2 separate regions of the Homo sapiens genome follow, and region 1 is linked to region 2. Evidence: promoter capture Hi-C in 16 types of primary human blood cells and fetal thymus (Javierre and others, 2016). All regions are on one chromosome and are shown on one strand. Each heading gives the region's core, a stretch centred on a gene start or on the middle of the fragment in contact. The rest is flanking DNA. Distances are from core to core; before and after follow the strand shown.

Region 1 (6,961 bases), core at 3,309-5,808, 110 kb after region 2:
GGCGCGCGACCCGCTGCGGTGCGCATGTGCCGGGAAAAGCCGCCCCCACTCCCCCCGCCGGCCACGCCTCCCGCCCCACCGGCCCCGCCCGGGCCGCACCCCCCCCGCCCCCCGCCCCCGCCCAGGTCGGCGAGCCCCGGCCCCAGCTGCCCCGCGGAGCCCGACCCTCTCCCTGTTTCCCCGCCTAGTCGCCCTAACCCCCACCCGCCACCCACTCCTTCTTCAAGCCGTCTTGGGGTCTTTGCAGGCAGCCACTCCCTGCCACTTTTACCGCGGACTTACGTGGAGGCCTCGCCCTTCCGGTTCCCCCGCGTTTGGTCTGGGCGCCGGACCGGGCGTTCTGCTTTGGGAGACTCTTCCCCGGGTCGTCAGGGCTAAAGGCCCCTTGGCCAAGGCCTGCTGCCAGAGTGAGGGGCCCTTCTGCTTTGCGAGGATTTAAAGGGAAGCCGCCTGGCTTAATTTCGCCCTCGTCTGTCTCCTTGCAAACCTTCGCTCGCTGACCATACTTTTCATTGGGCACAGCATGTGGGGTAGGAGGAATTAGAAGCGCGCAGTCTGGGTGGGATGACAGATGGGAGGCTTTTGGAAGTAATTAGCAAATACCTATCACCGAATAATAACACAGCTGAGGGCTGGGCAGTCCCCAAGCGCTTCCTGCACTTGAGGTTTAGTTGCCCCAGAGGGAAAAAGGGTCTGTAGACGGCTTCTGTTTTCTCTCTACTCCTCCACCCCACCCTCCCTCCTGCGTCTTTGGACTTGCTCGCTGCTGCCTTGAACTGCTCCAGATGCCGAGCTCGGAGCGCTTCTCCTGAGCTCACAAACTTTCTGTAGCTCTCCAGATTCAAGGACCTAAGTCGAAATTCCTCGTCTTGCCCTCAAGGCCCTGTACAGAGCACTGATCTGACTTCTCCCGGACCCAGAGCCCACCCCACTCGCTGGCCGGCATGCGCCCTGGCTGGCTGGCCCCCCCCCAACGTCACTTGTAGGAATTCTGTGGGTCTTTAAACACTCCTTTCCTGATTCTCTGGAGTGGACGAGGAGAGTCACCTTCTTTTGAAGTCCCCGAATCCCTTTGTATTATTTTCAAAATGAAGTTTCCTTTACTGTCCTTTATGATTACAAAAGCAAGATACAGTCATTACAGAAACAACCGAAATACCAAGAAGTGAAAGGAACAGACCTCAAAATTCTGCTCACCAGAAACAGCCACTGTTAGCACATTGCTGTTATTTGCCTGTTTATTATCAGTAGACTTGTCTCATTGGTTCAAAAACATTTTTCAGTATCTATTAGGGTATTTCATTAGGGGTAGGAGCTGAAAAACATGGATTAGTCCTTGTTTCTGCTCAGGGACCAGTGTGGGAGGAGACAGGCAGCCAGACAATGGTTTGAGGGTGATAGGTGCAGTTACGGGGAGAGGCTTGGGGGCTAAGAGGCTAAGGAGAGGCCTCTGACCCAGACTGGGAGATGATGCTGCAGAACCACAGGGAAAGTTGCCGCCAAGGGAGAATCCTGGGCAAAGGCTGGGGCAGGGGCTGTCCGGGCTCTGGGCTGGAGCCTGGAGTCACGGGGTAGTTTGTGGGAAGGTGAGAAAGAGCCTTGTGCTCCTGGACTTTGCACTCTGAGCATTAGGGGCCACCGAAAGGTTCAAGCAGGGGAATGGTTGGATCTGCTGTGTTTTCAGAGGTTCTCTGCCTGTGTTTTAGGTAGTTGGGTGGGGGAAGGCCGGAGGGGCAGGTAGGAAGCCCCTTGAGGACCAGGACCATTGTTGGCATCTCCAGTCCTTGGCTCAGTGCTTTACGGGATTGCATGGAACATGGAGATGTTGTATTTGGGGAGACGCAATCAGGTAATATGAGGGGAGCAGTGGTAGATGAAAGTTGAGCTGAGGACCAGGTGCAAATCTGCTAGGAGGCTGTGGAGTAGTTCAGGTGAGAGAAGAATGAATGAAGGCGGGGCAATGGGATAAAGCCTAGAGAAGGCAGGGCAAAACCCCATGAGGTGTCAGGCCGGGAAGGGGAGGGAGAGATCAGAGGCAGAGCAGCAGAAGCTAGTAACAAGTAGGGGCACAGGGCACATCCCCACGTCAATCTGAGTCCGAGAGGCTCCCCAGAGCAGGGGACATTGCAGCAGCTGACTTGACTTGGGAAGGTGGAGTCAGTAGTCAATGCGGAGGAGGGAATTCCAAGAGGGAACTGGATATGCAAAGACACAGAAGCGGGCAGCTGGCTGCACTGGGGAAACAACCGATAGTGGTACATGGGGAGGAAGGAGGACAAGGAAGGAGAGGCAGGGCCTAAACTGAGCCTAATGCCAAGAGGACAAGCAGAGGAATTTTGGTGATGCTTGACTTTACACATCCTAACCAGTGTCCAGGATGATTCCAGCACAGGGGAGGAGTGTGAAGCACCCTGGAGGGTGGGAAGGAGGCCGGAAAACAGTCAGTGTTCCATTGTGCCCTTTTGGGCCTGCGTCCATCTATCTTGGGAGACAGGTCTTAGGAAAAGAAAGATTTTATTGCATCTCCCCCTTCTCCCAAGTTAACAAGTACTGGTGGGAGGAGTTCAGTAAATATTTAAGTTTATAATAGAAATTACTTATTAGGGTAAACGTGAGTGTTGACAGAGGAAATCCACAGGGAGGCCTTAGAACCTGCCTGCCACAGAAGCGCTGCAGAAACGCTGCCTGTTGCTCCTATTCCTATTATTGTTTACACTGAAGAAAGAATTGGGGTCAGCCTATATAGTTCAGTGCCACATTCGTATAATCAAGGCATCCTTTTTATGTGATGAGAGCATTGGGCCTGAAGTGAGGGGGTCTGAGTTCTACTCTTGGTTCTGACCCTTTGGTCTATGTTAGGCAGGCAGCCTCCTCTCTGGGCCTCAGTCTCCTCACCTGTACAAGAGTATTGTGAAAGGAAAATAAATCTTAGGACCCCAAAATCAATAAGCCAAAGGAAAAAATCAAGCTGGGAACTGCCACAGGCAAACCTGCCTCCCATTCCTAAATAAGATAGCTACAAAGATTTTTTAAAAAGCTATGCACTTCTCGGCCGGGCGCAGTGGCTCACGCCTGTAATCCCAGCACTTTGGGAGGCCAAGGTGGGCGGATCACGAGGTGAGGAGATCGAGACCATCCTGGCCAACATAGTGAAACCGCATCTCTACTAAAAATACAAAAATTAGCCAGGCATGGTGGCGCATACCTATAATCCCAGCTACTCGGGAGGCAGAGGCAGGAGAATCCCTTGAACCAGGGAGTTGGAGGTTGCAGTGAGCCGAGATCGCGCCACAGCACTCTAGCCTGGCGACAGAGTGAGACTCCGTCTCAAAAAGAAAAAACAAAAAAAGCTATGCACTTCTTGTTGGGCGCTGTGACTCACACCTGTGATCCAAGCACTTTAGGAGGCCGACGCGGGAGGATCATGAGGTCAGGAGATCAAGACCATCCTGGCTAACACGGTGAAACCTCGTCTCTACTAAAAATACAAAAAAATTAGCCGGGCGTGGCGGCGGGCGCCTGTAGTCCCAGCTACTCAGGAGGCTGAGGCAGGAGAATGGCGTGAACCCGGGAGGCAGAGCTTGCAGTGAGCCGAGATCGCGCCACTGCCCTCCAGCCTGGGGGACACAGCCAGACTCCGTCTCAAAAAAAAAAAAAAAAAAAAAAGCAGCTATGCACTTCTTTCACAATTTGCCCATGAGGAAATTTCTGGTGGACCCTATGATATTTGCCCTAAAACAGTTCTGTTGAATTTCACCATGACAATGTAAATTGATAGCATATCTTCACAGGTACAGAAAAAAGGACAGAACTCAAAGTCATCCCTCTGCTCACCTGAGACAAATGCATATCTGATTGCTTCCTCCAATGTAAAAATGAAGATTCGCTGTGCTAGACAAGGCATAAGTGACTTATTTCTCTACCCTCCTCTGCCATGTAAATTGTGCATTCAGTGAGAGGATGATCAGTGACTCAAAAGAATGCAACCGTTTGTTTCTTACCTACCCACACCTTAAAAAAACTTTCTTCCTCTTTCCCCACCAGCCGCCTTTTAAATATTGAAGCCCTCAAAATCATCTTTGCAGAAGGCACAGATCTGCCTCCTGGGCGCCCATCTGTAACCTTGGCAAAATAAACTTTCTAAATTGATTGAGACCTGTCTCAGATACTTTTTGGTTCACAGCATTTTGGATCAGGAGGTGTCTTTCATTCCTCCTGACATTCTGTGTCACAATAAACCCCTGGGCCAAAGTGCATTTGTTACAGACAGTTAGTGCTACAGGCAACCAGGAAGGTGAGCGATGGAAAAATTATGTTTTGCCTTAACCGGAAGAGGAAAATATGGGTAAGCCCCTGAGTCAGAAATCACATGGAAGCAGCCAGGCCTTCCAGGCTTTGTGGTGCTGGAGTGGGAAAGCTTTTCCTCCCTTCCCTCAAGGCGTCCTGTCTCTGGGAAAGAAACCCCAGCTCAGGCTCAGGGTCCACTTTGGCTCTTGTGCCCCCCCTGGTGGTAAGATTTGAACACGCAGAGGCCAGGTGACCTAATGAGCCGTCACACCCATGCCCCAGGTCCCTCCAGCTGTGGGCAATGGCTTTGTAAGGCAACAGGTAGGACCCTCGCTCTCACAGGCCACCAAGGCCCTTCCAGCCACCACACCAGTGGCCATCTTGATTCACCTCCTTCACTTCTAGAAGCTTCTCTCCTGTTCCTCTTTCTAAGCTCAAATACACCACCTTATGAAGCCTTCCTGGAGCACTCCAGTCTTTTTCTCCGTGGATTACCTTGAGTCTCGCATGTGTGATTCTCTGGTCATCATCATCTTCCTTTATGTGTCCACTTCTTGGTAGTGAGCTCCTCGAGGGTGCACTTGCATTTGATTAATTTCTGTGCTCTCCCTAGCTCCCGGTCCCTTCCTGGCCCAGAGCAGGCCCTCTGCAAACATCTGCAGAATGACGGCTGGGCGTGGGGCTTTCTCAGGCCCCTGCCCTTCTCTCTCAGACCTCTCCTGGAGCACTCATCCCCTTTTGTGCCTTCCACCATTTTCTCTGTTTAACTCATCTCTCTGTAAATGCAAGTCCTGATATCCAAGAGCCTGCAGATTTTTTTTTTTTGAGACCAAGTCTCGCTCTGTTGCCCAGGCTGGAGTGCAGTGGCTCAATCTCGGCTCACTACAACCTCCATCCCTGGGCTCAAGAGACTCTCTTGCCTCAGCCTCCCAAGCAGATTGAATTACAGGTGTGCGCTGCCATGCCCGGCTAATAATTTTTTTTTTTTTAGACGGAGTCTCGCTTTGTCACCCAGGCTGGAGTGCAGTGGCACGATCTTGGCTCACTGCAACCTCTGCCTCCCGGGTTCAAGTGATTCTTCTGCCTCAGCCTCCCAAGTAGCTGGGACTACAGGCGCACACCACCATGCCCAGCTAATTTTTGTATTTTTAGTAGAGACGGGGTTTCACCATATTGGCCAGGCTGGTCTTGAACTCCTGAATTCGTTATCTACCCACCTCAGCCTCCCAAAGTGCTGGGATTACAGGCGTAAGCCACCGTGTTTTTTATATTTTTTATATTTTTTATATTTTTAGTAGAGATGGGGTTTCCTCCTGTTGGTCAGGCTGGTCTTGAACTCCTGGCCCCAGGTGATCCGCCCACCTCAGCCTCCCAAAGTGCTGGGATTACAGGCGTGCGCCACCGTGCCTGGCCCGTTTCCACTTCTAACGGCCCTCCAAATAGGCCCACGTTCCAATCCCCAAAACTGTGAATGTGTTACTTTCCATGGCATAGCCTGGACCATCCCAGTGGGCCCAGTGGAATCCAAAGGGTTCTTATAAGAGACAGGTGGAAGTGTCAAAGCCAGGGAAGGAGATGTGACGACAGAAGCAGAGGTCGCAGTGATGCACAGCTGTGTGTTGGGGAACAAGGACAGCCTCTAGAAGCTGGAGAAGGCGAAGAAACGAATTCTCCCCTGCAGCTGCCAGAGGGATCCAACACAGCCCTGCCCACCCATTTTAGATTTCAGACCTCTAGAATTGTGAAATAGTAAATATGTGTTACTTTAAGCCACTAAATTTGTGGTTGTTACCGAAGCAATAGGAAATATAGTAATCTCAATGTAAACATCAAGATCAGAATTCATAATCTCCAAGGGCTTTCTAGGCTCGCAGCTGACTTTCTCCTCAGCCCTCCCTGTCTCTAATCAGTCAGCACCAACACCTCCCATCACCTGGGGCTCCTCCTTCCCCCAGCCTCACAGCTGCTTAGTGAATGTGATTCCTGTTTCTTAGCTGTTCTTACGTCATTGCTGGGAGGCACCAGGGCTAAGGCGGGTTGTAGTGATTGAGTGGCAGAGCACAGATCAGACCTCAGAGCTTCTGGTTTCAGTCCAGGGTTGGATCCTGATCTTTTGTTCCCCCTGATGCCCTGCCATCCGCAAGGGGGCTGCATCCTGGAAGCTCATCTGCAGCCCAAACGGCTGTTCTACCCTTGCCCTGCCTCGCTGCTGTTCACCTGCCCAGGATGGACACAACATTGGACCCAGAGAGTCTTGCTGCGTGCGTCCTTGGGGGTGGGCTGCCCTCCTCTCACCCATCACTTCTTTTCCTTGCATTAAGCACACACACACTCAACCTGGAAACTGCCTATGTCCAGTGTGGATTTTATGAAGGTTTCACGGATAGGTGGATGAGGGGTTCCCTCTCATATGCCAGAGAGAACCATTCTAAGAATCCCTCTGGATAGCTCTTCTCAAACGTCCAATCTGTGGCAGCCACCCCTATCATCTGCCCCCCAGCCCAGCCTCAGCCAGCCCCCTGCCCTGTGGATGTCCTCTGCATATGTCTGTGTGGAGCAATTTAGCTCTAAACTTGGCATTTTCCGTTTGTGTCCCCACCTCCCCTCACCCTGCTCAGCAAAACAAATCATGGCTCTCAGGGTCTGTCCTCCTTAGTATATGGGGGTTGGGGGC
Region 2 (6,756 bases), core at 1-2,500:
CTCTCTCACATGTGTGCATATTTGGGGTACAAGCTCCTGCACTGGTCTCAAATGGGAACAAGGGTCACAGACAGGTCTCGGGCTTTCTGGATACACCCAGGTGGGAGGGTTCTCCTTGCACCTAGATATAACCCCATCCCCTTCCCCATATAAAGCTTGGGAAAAAGCTGGAGGGAGGCCATGGTGGGTGGGGTGGGCTGGGAGTGGGGGTGGCTGGAGACAGCCCAGTCTGCCACCAGTTTTTGTACAGCCTGTAAGCCTTTACATATTTACATAGTTGAAACAACTGCTGCCCCCCCTGCAAAAAAGCCACCAATATTTTGGGACAAGTAAATATTACATGATATTCAAATTCAGTGTCCATAAACACAGTTTTGTTGGAATCCATCCTCTTCTGCTGGTCTCCTAATAACCTGTGACTGCTTCTTGCTAGTTGGGACAGACGGTGTAGGCCGCGAAGTCTCTAATCTTTACTGTCTGGCCTTTACTGAAAGGCTTGCCCATCTCCTACCTGAACCCTCCTGACCACAGACAGGGAGGTGAGTGGGGCCAGCTGTCCGGCCACTGCCCTTAGAGACCAGCCAAATAGAATTAGAGTTTCTCCAGTTTCGGGCTATATATTTGGTCCTCCCCAGACTCTGGGAATACCACCATGGAGCTGGGGGCCAGGCGTGGGGCTCCATCCCTCCCCCCTAAACCTGGAGGGAGGGCCCGCCCTCGAGTGGGCAGGGCCTGGAAGAGGAGAGGCCTCCTAAGGGGCGGTGGGCTCAAGAAGGCTGCGCAGGTGTTTGTGCCCCGACCGGGTGGGCCTGAGGTCCTGCCTCAGCCCTCCCTTACCTTCCTCCGATTCAGGAGCAGAGGAGGAAACGTTCGCTGTCCCTCCTGCCGCCTCCCAATAGTCCTCCCTCTGAGGGCGCTGTCTCCCTCGCACTGCTCCCTACCCAGGGTCCTGTCTCAGCCCAGCCCCCGGCTCCCCTCCTCCCGCCTTCGGGAGGCCAGGCCTTCCTTCCCCTTCGCCCCGGCTTCCAGGCCCCGGGTCCCGGCCGCCCCGCCCCCGGGCCGCGTAGCCCTCCCGCCGCTCACCTGTGCCCACAGGTGTCACCGCACCCGCTGCCCTGCGCCGCCCTCCCCGCCCGCGGGGCTCCCCGTCGCCGTCGGCTCCCCGGCGATGCCAGCCAGCCCCGATGCCCAGCCTGGGACTGGGATCGAGCGGCCCGCGGGAGCCGGGCAGCGCGGGTCCGGGCGAGGAGGGCGGGGACCGGGCTGGCCCCTCCCTACCGCCAGCACCGCTCGGGGCAGAGGGGCAGAGGGGCGGGGCCCTGGGGACCGAGCAGCCCCCGCCCTCACGCAGCCACCGCCTTCCCCGGAGAGGACAGCTCACGTGGCGGTGCCCTCCTTTCCCCTTTTCGGTCGCACCTGAACTCGACACCCGCCGGCCGAGCGGGAGGGCTGGGACCGCGCGCCCTCCACTCCGGGCCAGACCCCCGCGAGGCGCTGCAGTAATGAGGGCTGAGTAAGGGGCGGGGCGCCGCCGGGGGAGGCGGCGAGGGTGACAACCTGTGGCAGGCACCCCTCTCTCCTGCTGGTCGCGGCGAGTGGCCGGCCGTCCGGTCCTCCCCCTGCCTCGGCCTAGACCCCTAAGCAGGCAGGGAGCCCGCCTGCCAGCTGGAGGGGCAGGGGGCCCCGTCGCTGTGTGGAGTCCAAAGTGTGAGCCTTATCTCTCAGAGGACCGGCTGGCCTGCCTGGTGGAAGGTGATACTGGAAGGCTATCCTGGACTTTGCCTTTGCTCCAGGGATAGGCAGCTGAGGCCTGACCCGCACTTCTCCTATGACCTAAGACTCAGGTGGGGGCACCCTCCCAGTTCACCTGCAAATAAGCCCACTCCCGGCTACACCAGGGTCACCCAGCCCTTGCGGTGGCTGCTAAAATAGATGCTGTGGGGCCAGGCGCGATGGCTCACGCCTGTAATCCCAACACTTTGGGAGGCCGAGGCGGGCGGATCACAAGGTCGGGAGATGGAGACCAGCCTGGCCAATATGGTGAAACCCCGACTCTACTAAAAATACAAAAATTAGCTGGGCATGGTGACGGGCGCCTGTAGTCCCAGCTACTTGGGAGGCTGAGGCGGGAGAATCGCTTGAACCTGGGAGGTGGAGGTTGCAGTGAGCCAAGACAGCACTACTGCACTCCAGCCTGGGCAACAGAGTGAAACTCCATCTCAAAAAAAAAAAAAAAAAAAAAGAAAGAAAAAGAAAAAGATGCTGTGGAAGGACTGACACATGCTGGGCATTGCATGAAAGGACCATACTTTATTTTCTTTATTTTTAAAATTTATTTTTTAAAAAGAAAATAGAGACAATATCTTGCTGTGTGGCCCAGGATGGACTCCAACTCCTGGGTTCAAGCGATCCTCCTGCTTCGGTTTCCCCACCTTTTCACTTCTCCAAATCATGGCACCTCGTCTGACAGAAGCACTGGATATTTGAGATAGAAGTGTCCTGTGGATGTGTGGTCATTATAATCTCACAACCATGAAACCCAAGACCCTGTAGTTGGCAGGTGGCAGGTCTGAGGCTCCCAGCCCCTCACCCTGACTGTGGTCTATTTCCTGCCAATGAACTCAACAGTGATTGATACGGCTCCTTACTTCTTCAGAGCATCCTGAAGTTCAGGAAACACTTTCAGAAGCAGAATCTCCTTGAGTTGCCAGGGGAAAAGGCCTCTATTCCCTTTTCCCATCTAGGCTATGAAACGCATACATGATCAGAGTGTTCTAGTCCTCACTCGGACTCTGGTGACTCTATTTTGTTTGGAGGAGGAATCTATATCTTTGGGCAGTTTCTAATTTTGTATTCCCTGTGTCCATCCTCAAATCTGCCCTCTGGGATTCTCTTTCTCTGAGCTTGCTGTTGTGTGATTGCTCTGCTGGTTCAGAAGTGTCCTCTGTTCCTCCAGCTCCTTGAACCAGCCTGTCTCCTGCTCCTGGCCCAGCTGGTGGTGGGACTAGTTTTCGGGGGTGAAGTCAGGTGGGAAAGGAACTGCAGTGGCAAGAAACCAGAGTGTGCCTAGTTCCTAGCCCTTCCCTCTTCCCATTCACTGTGTGTGTGTGTGTGTGTGTGTGTGTGTGTGTGTGTGTGTGTGTGTGTGTGTGTGGTGAGAGCTAGACAGAGATAGAGAGATGTCCAGGGATGACAAGAGTAGCCATGAGGGAAAGAGTTAATAAGCCAGGAGAGGAGGTGGTGATTACGGACAGTATTAAATGACACCCCAGAGACAGCTGGTGCCAATGGCCCCTAGCTTCTCCTCCCAGTGTCTCCCAGAAGGAGTGGGAAGGAGGAATAAGAGGGAAGATGAAATTGAGAGAGCACCAAAGACAAGCCTGGGCTTACAGTGCTCTGGGGTGAGCTGGCTAGAGGGGCCCAGTGGCAGGTGGTGGTGGGTGGCGGGGTGGTTAACCCTTTCACTTCCCTCTAGGCGTTGAGGTCCAGTCTCCACCCACTACTGCCCCAGGGCCTGTCTTCAGCCTCCCTGGGAGGAGAGGTTCCCAGGGCAAGCTGGAGTCTAGAAGCCAGAGGTGTGGCCGGGCACAGGTGTGTGGCCTAGGAGGCAGGCCTCCATGTTCTGTTTCTTCTCTTCTGTCACTCTCACAGTCTCCACTTCCATGACTCCTCTGTGCTGCGGAGAGCACACTCCTATGGCAGGCTGAGGGGAGCATTCTCAGGGAGCTGAATGAAATGTAAAGAATTGGGAGGCTGGAGGCTTGGCCTCTGCCAAGTGAGGCTAGGGGCCATCTGGTCCTTGGACCAGAGTATGCCATCTGGATACTTCTCTTTATTCCTGGTTATCCTAGCCTTTCCTCACATGTCTAGCTTGAGTCATATGCCTCACTTTCTCCCAGGTAAGATGCTCCTCATTAGGCCCCTGGATTGACCCCATAACTGATGGTAAAGTGTGTGTCCACGGTCAGAGCTCTGAGGATCAAATGCTTCTGTCCAATAGCAGCCTGAGGATAACTGCCTGGGGTTGGCATAAGGGGCTCACCAGGCAGGAAGGTCAGGGAAACTCATTTGTGCCTCGACCTCTGCTGAGCCCATATCTCTCAGGGCAGAAGTGGGGACCATCTGGGCTAATGAGGGGCTGGCAGGCACTAGCAACAGGAGGCAGCTAATGGGAGCTGTGTCCTCCCTGCCCAGAGCGAGGCAGAAACTGAGGGTTCAAGCTAGGAGGCGCCAGGTCATGTGAGGCAGATGAATACCAGGAGGACAGGCCACAGGGCAAAGCCTCTGGTGCCTCAGGCCAGAACTGGTGCTTCCCGTTTCTTCTTTCGTCCCCTCCCCCTTCCTTCCACATTTACTGGCAATGTGTAAGACAGTAGGAATATAGAAAAGAATAAGAGGCCCTGACTTCTAGGGGCTTACAGACTAGTGGGGAGGCAGATGGGCGAAAAGAACATTGATATTTAAGTTAGACCAAGAACGACTAAGTCAGGAGCTGTGGGAACACTTTGGAGGGACCGGTTACTACATAGGGGAGCCAGGGATGGCTTCTAGAGGAGGCGAGCTTTGTGTTGGGACTCGAAGGATGAGTAGCAGTCAGCTGGGCTGAGAAGGAGGAAAGGACATTTCTGGAGGAGGGAAGAGCATGTTTAAAAAGAAACTGGGGAAGGGCAGACTTCCCTAAAGGCCTCCTGAGGGTCTACCCTGTTGGCTCCCTGGGAATATCCCAGCTTCCGAGCCGAGGGTCTCTGGGTGGTGGCTTAGGAGGACGAACCTTCTTTGTGGCCTTCCAGGACCTCCGCAGTTTGACCTCAGTTATACTTCCCTACTCAATCCCTAGATGTGTCCCCATTCCCTGGGTCGGCCTCGACTTTCCTGACTCCATGCCTTTGCTCAAGCTGTTCCCCTCAGCTGGGTGCCTTGTCCTCCGACTCCACTTACCTCCTTCGAGGTCTTTCCTAGGACTGCCTCCTTCACGAAGCCTTTCCTAATAATCCCGCAGCCAGGCTGATCACTTTCCTCCCTGCTTGCAGCTGCCTTGACCGCTATGTTTCTTTAAAAGGCACCACTCTTGTTCTCCCTACTAAGTTGATATTAGCATGTGCCACCTATGCCTGAGGGCAGAGACCAGCCTAACACAAGACTGGCATGGTGTTTGGGAATTGAACTGGATTGACTTGCTAGAGGACCCAGACAGAATGACTTGCAGATAGACTGGCCTGTACTGTTCTGTCCCTACCCAAAGGAACCACATTTGCTTTTTAGATACCTGGAATTCTTCCATAATTTCAGTTTCCTTTCCTGCTTGATTACTGTAGCATCAGGACATCTGTGATGCACCTAAATGTTCCTCTCCATTAGGGCAAACATACCATGTAAGTTTACCTTGCAGGCCAATTCTTTTCTCTTTTTCTTTTTTTAAAATTCCAGATTCTCTCAGATCCTGAATTGCGGGCTAATTCTGATAGGTGGTGGGTTCCTGGAACATTAACTTAAGAAGGATTCTGTGGCTGGCTCAGCAGAAAGAATGCTAAGATGGCTTAGCAATGTCTGCCCCAGGGGAAAGAGGGCTCTTTCTGCCTTAGCGTGAGGTTTATCAGTCACTTGTCTTGCACTGAGCCAAGACTGGGACACTGAGAATGTAAGGCCTTTGCCTCTGTTGGAAGCTGATGGCGAAGGTGACTAGAAGACAATCGGGTGGATCTACCTTCTTGGGATTTACGGTGGCATATCTTCCAGTCAGATGTCTGGATGTCCAGGTCTGTGCTCCGAGGCACCCTTTTGACATGCGGCCCCAGAGAGGCTGTGGAATTTTTTTTCTTTTTTTGAGACAGGGTCTCACTCTGTCAACCAGACTGGAGTGCAGTAGCGCCATCACAGCTCTCTGCAGCCCAGACCTCCGAGGCTCCAGTGATCCTCGCATCTCAGCCTCCCGAGTAGCTGGGACCACAGGCACATGCCAACATGCCCTGTAGTGAACAGAACACTGGATGAACAGATGGGTGAACAGAATATTGATATGGAAGTTAGACATAGAAGGGATAAACTGGGAGCTGCAGGAACACTTTGGAAGGACCAGTTACTACATAGGGGAGCTAGGGATGGCTTCTAGAGGAGGCAAGCTTTGTGCTGGGACTTGAGGGATGAGTAGTAGTCGGCTGGGTAGAGAAGGAGGAAAAGGTGCTGGACCAAGAGCTGTGGAATCTTTTTTTTTTTCTTTTTCTTTTTGTTTGTTTGTTTGTTTTTGAGATGGAGTCTTGCTCTGTCGCCAGGCTGGAGTGTAGTGGTGGCGCAATCTCGGCTCACTGCAACCTCTGCCTCCCGGGTTCAAGCGATTCTCCTGCCTCAGCCTCCCAAGTAGCTGGAACTACAGTAGCGTGCCACCATGCCCAGCTAATTTTTGTGTTTTTAGTAGAGACGGGGTTTCACCATGTTGGCCAGGATGGTCTCGATCTCCTGACCTCGTGATTGGCCTGCCTCCGCCTCCCAAAGTGCTGGGATTACAGGCATGAGCCACTGTGCCCAGCCCATTTTGTGTCGGTTTCTACCTTAATTTTGCATTAATCATTTCTGCCTGCCTAAATGACGGATCTCTGCCTCCCTTACTGCTCCTGCACTTGTTGGTTTGTTGTTTTTAGAATACAAATGCACTGTGCAGGGCTCAGAGGCTTGGAGCCATCTCTGTCTCATGCCAGGGTCTTGGTTCATAGGGAAGCCCTTCATCGGGCTTTGGGGGCAGCTGGATTTGATTTGTCTATA

Evidence for each region. Contacts are between HindIII fragments. The CHiCAGO score rates a contact against its expected background, and 5 or more counts as called.
Region 1: a fragment that was not itself captured here is called in contact with the fragment with the promoter of PLEKHG6 in region 2 in 1 of 17 cell types (M1 macrophages); the score reaches 5.4 in M1 macrophages.

Annotation. Positions count from the first base shown.
Region 1 is chr12:6,193,394-6,200,354 of GRCh38, reverse strand. It overlaps a transcript of CD9 not described here. Among named protein-coding and RNA genes, the nearest start is that of CD9, 3.5 kb to the left of the region's middle. RefSeq lists enhancers at 1-470, 471-1,083 and a silencer at 6,210-6,259. The HindIII fragment of the contact is 278 bases long and covers 4,420-4,697 here.
Region 2 is chr12:6,305,176-6,311,931 of GRCh38, reverse strand. PLEKHG6 (pleckstrin homology and RhoGEF domain containing G6) reads right to left here and starts at 1,250. Exons shown (of 16, transcript NM_001384598.1): 1 at 1,084-1,250. RefSeq lists a silencer at 1,304-1,353 and an enhancer at 1,716-2,436. The HindIII fragment of the contact is 5,964 bases long and covers 158-6,121 here.